Regions from separate parts of the Homo sapiens genome. Here region 1 is linked to region 2. Evidence: promoter capture Hi-C in 16 types of primary human blood cells and fetal thymus (Javierre and others, 2016). All regions are on one chromosome and are shown on one strand. Each heading gives the region's core, a stretch centred on a gene start or on the middle of the fragment in contact. The rest is flanking DNA. Distances are from core to core; before and after follow the strand shown. Region 1 holds the start of MRAP-AS1 (MRAP antisense RNA 1). Region 2 holds the start of TMEM50B (transmembrane protein 50B).

The links. Contacts are between HindIII fragments. The CHiCAGO score rates a contact against its expected background, and 5 or more counts as called.
Region 1: a contact is called between the fragment with the promoter of MRAP-AS1 here and the fragment with the promoter of TMEM50B in region 2, in 1 of 17 cell types (activated CD4 T cells). The highest score is 5.4, in activated CD4 T cells.

What each region holds. Positions count from the first base shown.
Region 1 is chr21:32,307,378-32,310,903 of GRCh38, forward strand. MRAP-AS1 (MRAP antisense RNA 1) reads right to left here and starts at 1,358. Exons shown (of 2, transcript NR_187556.1): 1 at 1,142-1,358. All of the region lies in intron 2 of MRAP (melanocortin 2 receptor accessory protein), which reads left to right. The HindIII fragment of the contact is 11,077 bases long and covers 1-3,526 here.
Region 2 is chr21:33,477,777-33,481,645 of GRCh38, forward strand. It overlaps TMEM50B (transmembrane protein 50B), which reads right to left and starts at 2,198. Exons shown (of 7, transcript NM_006134.7): 1 at 2,062-2,198. It also overlaps the pseudogene RPS5P3. The HindIII fragment of the contact is 5,416 bases long and covers 1-3,869 here.

The sequences.
Region 1 (3,526 bases), core at 108-2,607, 1.2 Mb before region 2:
ACCAGCCTAGCCAACTTGGTGAAACCCTGTCTCTACTAAAAATACAAAAATTAGCCGGGCGTGGTGGCACGCACTTGTAATCCCAGCTACTCAGGAGGCTGAGGCAGGAGAATTGCTGGAACCCAGGTGGCGGAGGTTGCAGTGAGCCGAGACTGTGCCACTACACTCCAGTCTGGGCAACAGAGTGAGACTCCGTCTCAAAAAAAAAAAAAAAAAAGAAGTTCTAAAATTAAGCCAGGCCCAGTAGCTCACACCTGCTGTAATCCCAGCACCTTGGGAAGCCAAGGCAGGAGGATCGCTTGAGCCCAGGGGTTCGAGACCCTATCTCCATAAAAAATAACAAAAAGTTAGCTGGGCATGGTAGTGCGCACCTGTAGTCCCGGCTACTCAGGAGGCTGAGGCAGGAGGATCACTAGAGCCCAGCAGGTCAAGGCTGCAGTGAGCTGTGATTGCGCCACTGCACTCTAGCCTGGGTGATAGAACAAGACCCTGTCTCAACAAACAAACAAAAAGTTCTAAAATTAGATTATGGTGATGGTTGCACAACTCTATGGATGTACTGAAGACCACTGAAATTGTACTCTTTAAATGAGTCAACCTCATGGAATGAAAATATATCTCACTAAAGCTGTTAAAGAAAATGAAGCCAACTTGACACCATGGGCATTAAGTCTTGCCGGCCAGCTCACCAGGAACATAAGAACCTTACCTTTGGCCAGGTGTGGGGGCTCACACCTGTAATCCCCGCACTTTGGGAGGCCAAGGTGGGCGGATCACCTGAGATCAGGCCTTTGAGACCAGACTGGCCAACATGGTGAAACCCCATCTCTACTGAAAATATTTTTAAAAAATCAGCCAGGTGTGGTGGTGTATGCCTGTAATCCCAGCTACTCGTGAGGCCAAGCAGGAGAATCGCTTGAACGCAGGAGGCAGAGGTTGCAGTGAACCGAGATTGCACCACTGCACTCCAGCCTGGGCAAGAAGAGAGAAACTCTGTCTCCAAAAAGAAAAAAAAAAGAAAAAAGAAAAAGAAAGATCCTTACCTTAGGCACCTATGGCCAGCATCTGTTCTCAGATGCCTGCTGTGTGCCACTAAATTGGAGGTGAAATCCAGGAGTTTTAAGGAGTAATTGGAACCCACCTTGTTTTATGTTAATTCTGTTGTGCTAGAGGATTGGCTGACACATCCAATGTTCCCTTCTAGGCTAATCAGCCCTCACAGCTGCTGCTCTCCTAATGACTGTTCTTAGGAGGGACCCTATATTTTGCCATCGCTCACCCGAAGAGGGCCTGTCCAGTGGCTGGCCCATGCCCTTGGAAACGTGTGCCCTGGCAAAAGAGCTGGGACTGGTCAGATTCTCATCTTTGGAATTTGGAATCTAGAACCTGAGGGATGGACCTGGTGGCTATGGGGGCTGCACTGATTGGTCCAGGAGGAGGACTAGGGCTGGGTGCCATTATAGACCATTATGTCCATTACGGACGGAAGTCTTGGGGACTGGAAACCCTAAGCGTAGGAAGCTGGTCAGCAGAGAGATGAGCCAAACTGTGCTGAGGAAGAGCTGAGTGGCCTTGGAGCCCCTGAGCCAGTGCGTCCCATGCCAGGTCCCGTGAAGAGCCGTGGACTCGCGCATTGGCACAGCGTCTTAGTGTTTTCTGTTGCTGTAACAGAATACCTGAGGCTGAGTAATTTATGAAGAAAAGAGGCTTATTTAGCTCATGGTTCTGAAGGCTTAGAAGTCTAGGAAGCATGGCACCGACATCTGCTTAGCTTCTGGTGAGGGCCTCATTTTGTAAAAAGATCTAATTCAGTCTAGAGAAAAAAAAAACTCATTACCTCTTAAAGGTCCCAGCTCCCAGTGTTGCCACACTGGGGACCAGGTCTCCACGAGTTTTGGTGGGGACAAACCATACCACAGCCCAACATTACCTTGAAGGGGCCTCTGATTCTCCTCCCCGCCCCTGCCTGCCCTGCCCGTGGTGTCTCACCCACCAGGGCTACACTCGCCAGGCCATTTCCGCTCACCTTTGGTCACATATGGAAGGTAGCTTTAGAGCAATGAAGAAATTCATTTTTTTTTTTTTGTTTTTGAGACAAGAATCTCGCTGTGTCACCCAGGCTGGAGTGCAGTGGCGTGATCTCGGCTCACTGCAACCTCCACCTCCCAAGTTCAAGCTATTCTCTTGCCTCAGCCTCCCGAGTAGCTGGGATTACAGGCACCCGCCACGACGCACAGCTAATTTTTGTATTTTTAGTAGAGACAGGGTTTTGCCAAGTTGGCCAGGCCAGTCTCAAACTCCAGACCTGTAATCCTAGCACTTTGAGAGGCCGAGGTGGGTGGATCACCTGGGGTCAGGAGTTCGAGACTGGCCTGGCCAGCTTGGCGAAACCCTGTCTCTATTAAAAATACAAAAATTAGCTGGGCATCGTGGCCGGTGCCTGTAATCCCAGCTACTCGGGAGGCTGAGGCAAGAGAATCGCTTGAACCTGGGAGGCAGAGGTTGCAGTTAGCCGAGATGGCATCACTGAGGTCAGGAGCCACTGTGCACAGCCTGAAATCTGTTCTTTTCTTTCAGTTTTTAGAACTCACATTCAATTTAAGCACATTTTTATACCCAAGACACATCTGAGGGATAAACGAGTGATGTCACCTTTCTTTACTACTCTTCTGAGATGACCTGCAGCCGCCCTATGCCAGGGAAGGTGCAAAGATCCCTGGTCTGGTCCGGCAAGCCCAGGGGCTGCCTCCACCACGCCCAGCTCCCTGGGGGGCACAGGCCTTCTGGGCTATTTCACAGGGGCAAACTGATGACACTATACATCCTGACCAGCTACATGGCTTACTAAAGAAAATGCTCTCAAGGCACTTGGTAACATTCCTGGAATGCTCAGGGCGGCAAAGTGGATCCTCAGCAAGATTTAGGAGTCATTCCCTGAGGAGCTGACACCTTCCCATGATGGGGGGGGGAGGGGAGGAGGGAGGTGGGGAGAGCATTCTTAGGCGAGTGCCATCTGAAAGCATGGCCTCTGCCCAGTGGGTTCATCACTTGGTACTCTTCATTTGTGCCAGCGCTGTAACCACATTTAAGTCGTTTTATACATCATCTCATTTCATCCTGAGGATATCTGTGAGCCAATATTGTCCCATTTTATGGATGACGTTAAAGGCAGCTGGGAAGTGGTGGCCAGAGCTCACTCCAGATGGCCATGTCCACTGCCCCAGCACTTCCCGGGCAGGAGAATCCACCCAGGGAGGACACATTTCTTTTTTTTTTCTTTTTTTTTTTGAGACTGAGTCTTGCTCTGTTGCCAGGCTGGGGTGCAGTGGCGCAATCTTGGCTCGCTGCAACTTCCGACTCCTTGGTTCAAGTGATTCTCCTGCCTCAGCCTCCTGAGTAGCTGGGATTACAGGCGCCCACCACCACACCCAGCTAATTTTTGTATTTTCAGTAGAGACGGGGTTTCCCTATGTTGGCCAGGATTGTCTCGATCTCCTGACCTCATGATCCACCTGCCTCTGCCTCC
Region 2 (3,869 bases), core at 948-3,447:
CTCCAGCCTGGGCAACAAGAGCAAAACTCGGCCTCAAAAATTATATATATATATACATAAGTTAAAAATAAACTTTAGGCCGGGCACAGTGGCTCACGCCTGTAATCCCAGCACTTTGGGAGGCTGAGGCAGGTGGATCACGAGGTCAGGAGATCGAGACCATCCTGGCTAACACGGTGAAAACCCGTCTTTACTAAAAATACAAAAAATTAGCCGGGCGTGGTGGTGGGCGCCTGTAGTCCCAACTACTAGGGAGGCTGAGGCAGGAGAATGGCGTGAACCCAGGACGTGGAGCTTGCAGTGAGCCGAGATCTTGCCACTGCACTCCAGCCTGGGAGACAGAGCAAGACTCTGTCTCAAAAAATAAATAAATAAATAAATTTAAAAATAATAATAATACACTTTAAAAGGCCAGGCGCGGTGCCCACACCTGTAATCCCAGTACTTTCAGAGACCGAGGCAAGCGGATCACTTGAGGTCAGGAGTTCAAGACCAGCCTGGCCAACATGGTGAAACTCTCTCTCTACTAAGAATATAAAAATTAGCCAGGCATGGTGGCAGGCGCCTGTGATCCCAGCTACTCGGGAGGCTGAGGCTGTAAAATCCCTTTAACCCTAGAGGTGCAGGCTGCAGTGAGCAGAGATCGGGCCACTGTACTTGTAGCCTGGTCAACGAGGGAGACTCTGTCTCAAAAAAAACAGAAAAGGAAAATGAGGATAAAATACGATAAATTCTTTACCTTGGCCCCCAGAAGTGAATTCAGAATTCAGAAAAGACTAGCCAGTGTAAGGCTGCTGTAACCCTAGTTGACAGAGAGGAGGGATTGGGGTGGTGAGTGGGAAGGCTGTGTCTCCGGAAGAAGAAATATACGTCCCCACCTCACTCTAATTAAACCTGCTTTTCCAGCGCGATAAATATTCAAGATAACTTTTGGTTTGCATTTCAATAACAAAGTCTTGCACCACTATCTTCAGTTTAAAAAAAAAGTTTAATGTTTGCTCTACGTTTGAAATGCATGCAGGTTTAAAAGACAAGAAACAAAATGATGAAAAAGTGTGACCGGCCTGAGAGTTCAGAGCCTCTGAAGTGTCAAGGGATCCACAGTGCAGGTAGGATGAAGAGTCTGAGAAGGGAGATGGGATCCTCCGAAAAGAGAAAATCGGGTCTTACAGCGCGATGTAAGACGATGCGGATGCCACTTCCCTCCCACCCCGTCCCGTCCGAGGCCTCCGCCCCCTGCCCCTCCGCACCCCCCGACCCAGGCACGCGCAGCGGGGAGCAGCCCAGCCTAGCCCGTCTCACTGCTTTGGTTTTGAAAGGTCACGTATTTACCTTAGAATTTCAGCACCTTCCAACTTACTGTTTTAAGTACCTTTAACCAGCCTATTGGCTAAAAACCGAAACGGTCCTACCCGCGACTACCACTGCTCCAGTGACAATGCTCTGCTGCTACTTATTTAACGGAGCTCAAGGTTTATAATTCTCGAAAGAATGTTGTTCCCCTTCCCTTTCCCCTCCCGCCTCTGTACTTGACTCTCGTAAGAATGAAATCAGAAAAGTGCAGAAAACACAGGCTCCTAGCAATGGTTCGGGGCAAACGGGAGGGGCGAAGAAGGGCTGGAGCCGCCCCGGGGCCCTCGCTCCGGCCTCGGGAGGGCGTCGCGGCCGCAGCAGGGCGTCCCGAAAACCGTCGCCTCCGTGCCCGCCGCGCGAGAAGGTGAAAGGCACGAGATGGAGCCTCTCCAGCCCTCCCCAGGAACGCAACCTGACGGCGTGACAGCGCGGCAGGGCAGCCTCCCCGGGCTGCTTGCGGGTCGCGGCGGCGCCACGGTCACGGTCGGCCCGAAGGGACGCGGGCAGGGGCAAGAAGGGGCGGCGGGGGCTCCGCGGGCCCGAGTCTGCAGGCCGGCGCCGAACGCAGGGAAAACCCGGCTGGACGGCCCCACAGCCCCCAGAAGGCCGGGCCGGACAGGGCCCGACGAGGGAGCCTCCTTACGCGCGGGCGGCGGGCGCGAGCCCTCTACGGTTGCCTGGCGCCGGAGACCCACAGACAGGACTCACCCAGCTTCCTCAAACGCCCACGCCGACTTCAGGCGCGCGCGCAGGAAGGAGACTGCTGCGCCACAACCCTGCCGGCGTCCCGCGGCTCCACCTCAGCCCCGGGAGCCCGGAGCTGGGAGCAGACGCGAGGATAGAGCGCCGGTGAGGCGGGGCGAGGCGCCGTGTGCACCGCAGCGACCAATCGGAGCGCAGCAAGTGGCCGGCCGGGGGCGGGGCGGGACGCGAGGGGGCGGGGAGAGGGCGTTGGCTGGGCGCAGCGGGACGCCGGGCGCTCCTCGCGACCAATCGGCGTGCAGCAAGTGGCCGGCCGGGGGCAGGGCGAGCTCCGAGGGACGGGGTGGGCTGCTCTGCAGGCCTCCCGGAGCCGGAGTTCAGACCCAGCTATCTACGGTTCCGGGCAGAGCGGGACGGGCCTCTCCTGTCCCCTGCCGGTGGGCGGCCGCCGCCGGGCTCCCACTGCTGCGTTTCTGCACGCTGACTTGAAGTGCAGTACCGTGAGATTACGTGCGGACGGAGCTCGAGACCCGGGGGACCAGGGTTTCCCTTCGCCTATGGCCGATCAGTCTTGTCTGTCTGCGAGCTGCCCAGAGTAGGGAAGGTGCTCCGGGAGGGTTCTCGGGAACGGAGGGTCTTTAGAGATGCCTTTTTCTAATCCCCTCAATTCAGAAATGGAGCCCCAGAAAGTTGAAGTTAGTAAACCAGGGCTACCCAGCGAGTGCTGGTTACCCGAGGTGATCCTCACAATACAACTAGTCTTCTGATTTCGCTCGGCGCTCTCCCGTCTATTCACGTAGATTTTTGTCTTTTTTTTTTTTTTTCGTCTTTCTTATAGTCAGATATCTTTCAGCCTCTTGGATTTTCAACATAACTTTAACAGCGTTTGGAAGCCCCGTCTAAATTTCCTACAGAAATGCCTATAACCATTTAGTTGTTTGGGGGAAAGTCGAGCTTTGTTTTTTGGGTGGTTTGTTTGTTTGTTTTGAGACAGGGTCTTGCTCTGTTGTCCAGGGTGGAGTGCAGTGGTGTGATCTTGGCTCACTGCAGCCTCTTACCTCCCACGCTCAATCAATCCTCCCACCTCAGCCTTCCGAGTAGCTGGGATTACAGGTGCGCACCACCATGCTTGGCTAATTTGTGTATTTTTAGTAGAGACGGGATTTCACCTGGCTGATCCTGAACTCCTGACCTCAGGTGATCCACCCGCCTCTGCCTCCCAAAATGCTGGGATTACAAGCGTGGGCCACTGTGCCCAGCCAAGTAGAGTTATTATCAGTGGAAATCTAAAAAGCATTTTACTTGAGGCATAATGAAGTAAAAGGTTTTGTATCATGGAATTATCACCAAAAATGCCATCCTGGATAATGTTCTCCTATAGCTCTTATACATGGGCTAGGATCTAGGTGTTCAATAAATATGTGCTGAATAATTTACTTTTGAAATATGTCACAATGCTGGCATTCCACCAGAAGAGAGGATACAGAAGGGAACACTCTCCTCTCTTTAAGAACCTTTTGAAAGGGGCGGGGGTTGCATGTACCATTTTTGTTTTCATTCTGCTAGTAAAATAGTCACTTGACTACACCAAATTGCAAAGAAGGCTGGAAAATGGGGTTTCAGTACTAAGGAAGGAAAACTAGATATTAGGGGACAATTAGAAGTTTCCAAATCTCATCACTTTTTTTGGGGGGGTGGGGGAGGCATCCCAAAGGGCAGACTGGTTTATTAGGCAGCAGCCAGGAAAATCAGCGGTTGGACTTGTCCCCACACTCCAGCTCATCCTTCTTGTTGATGGCATAGGAGCTGGAGGA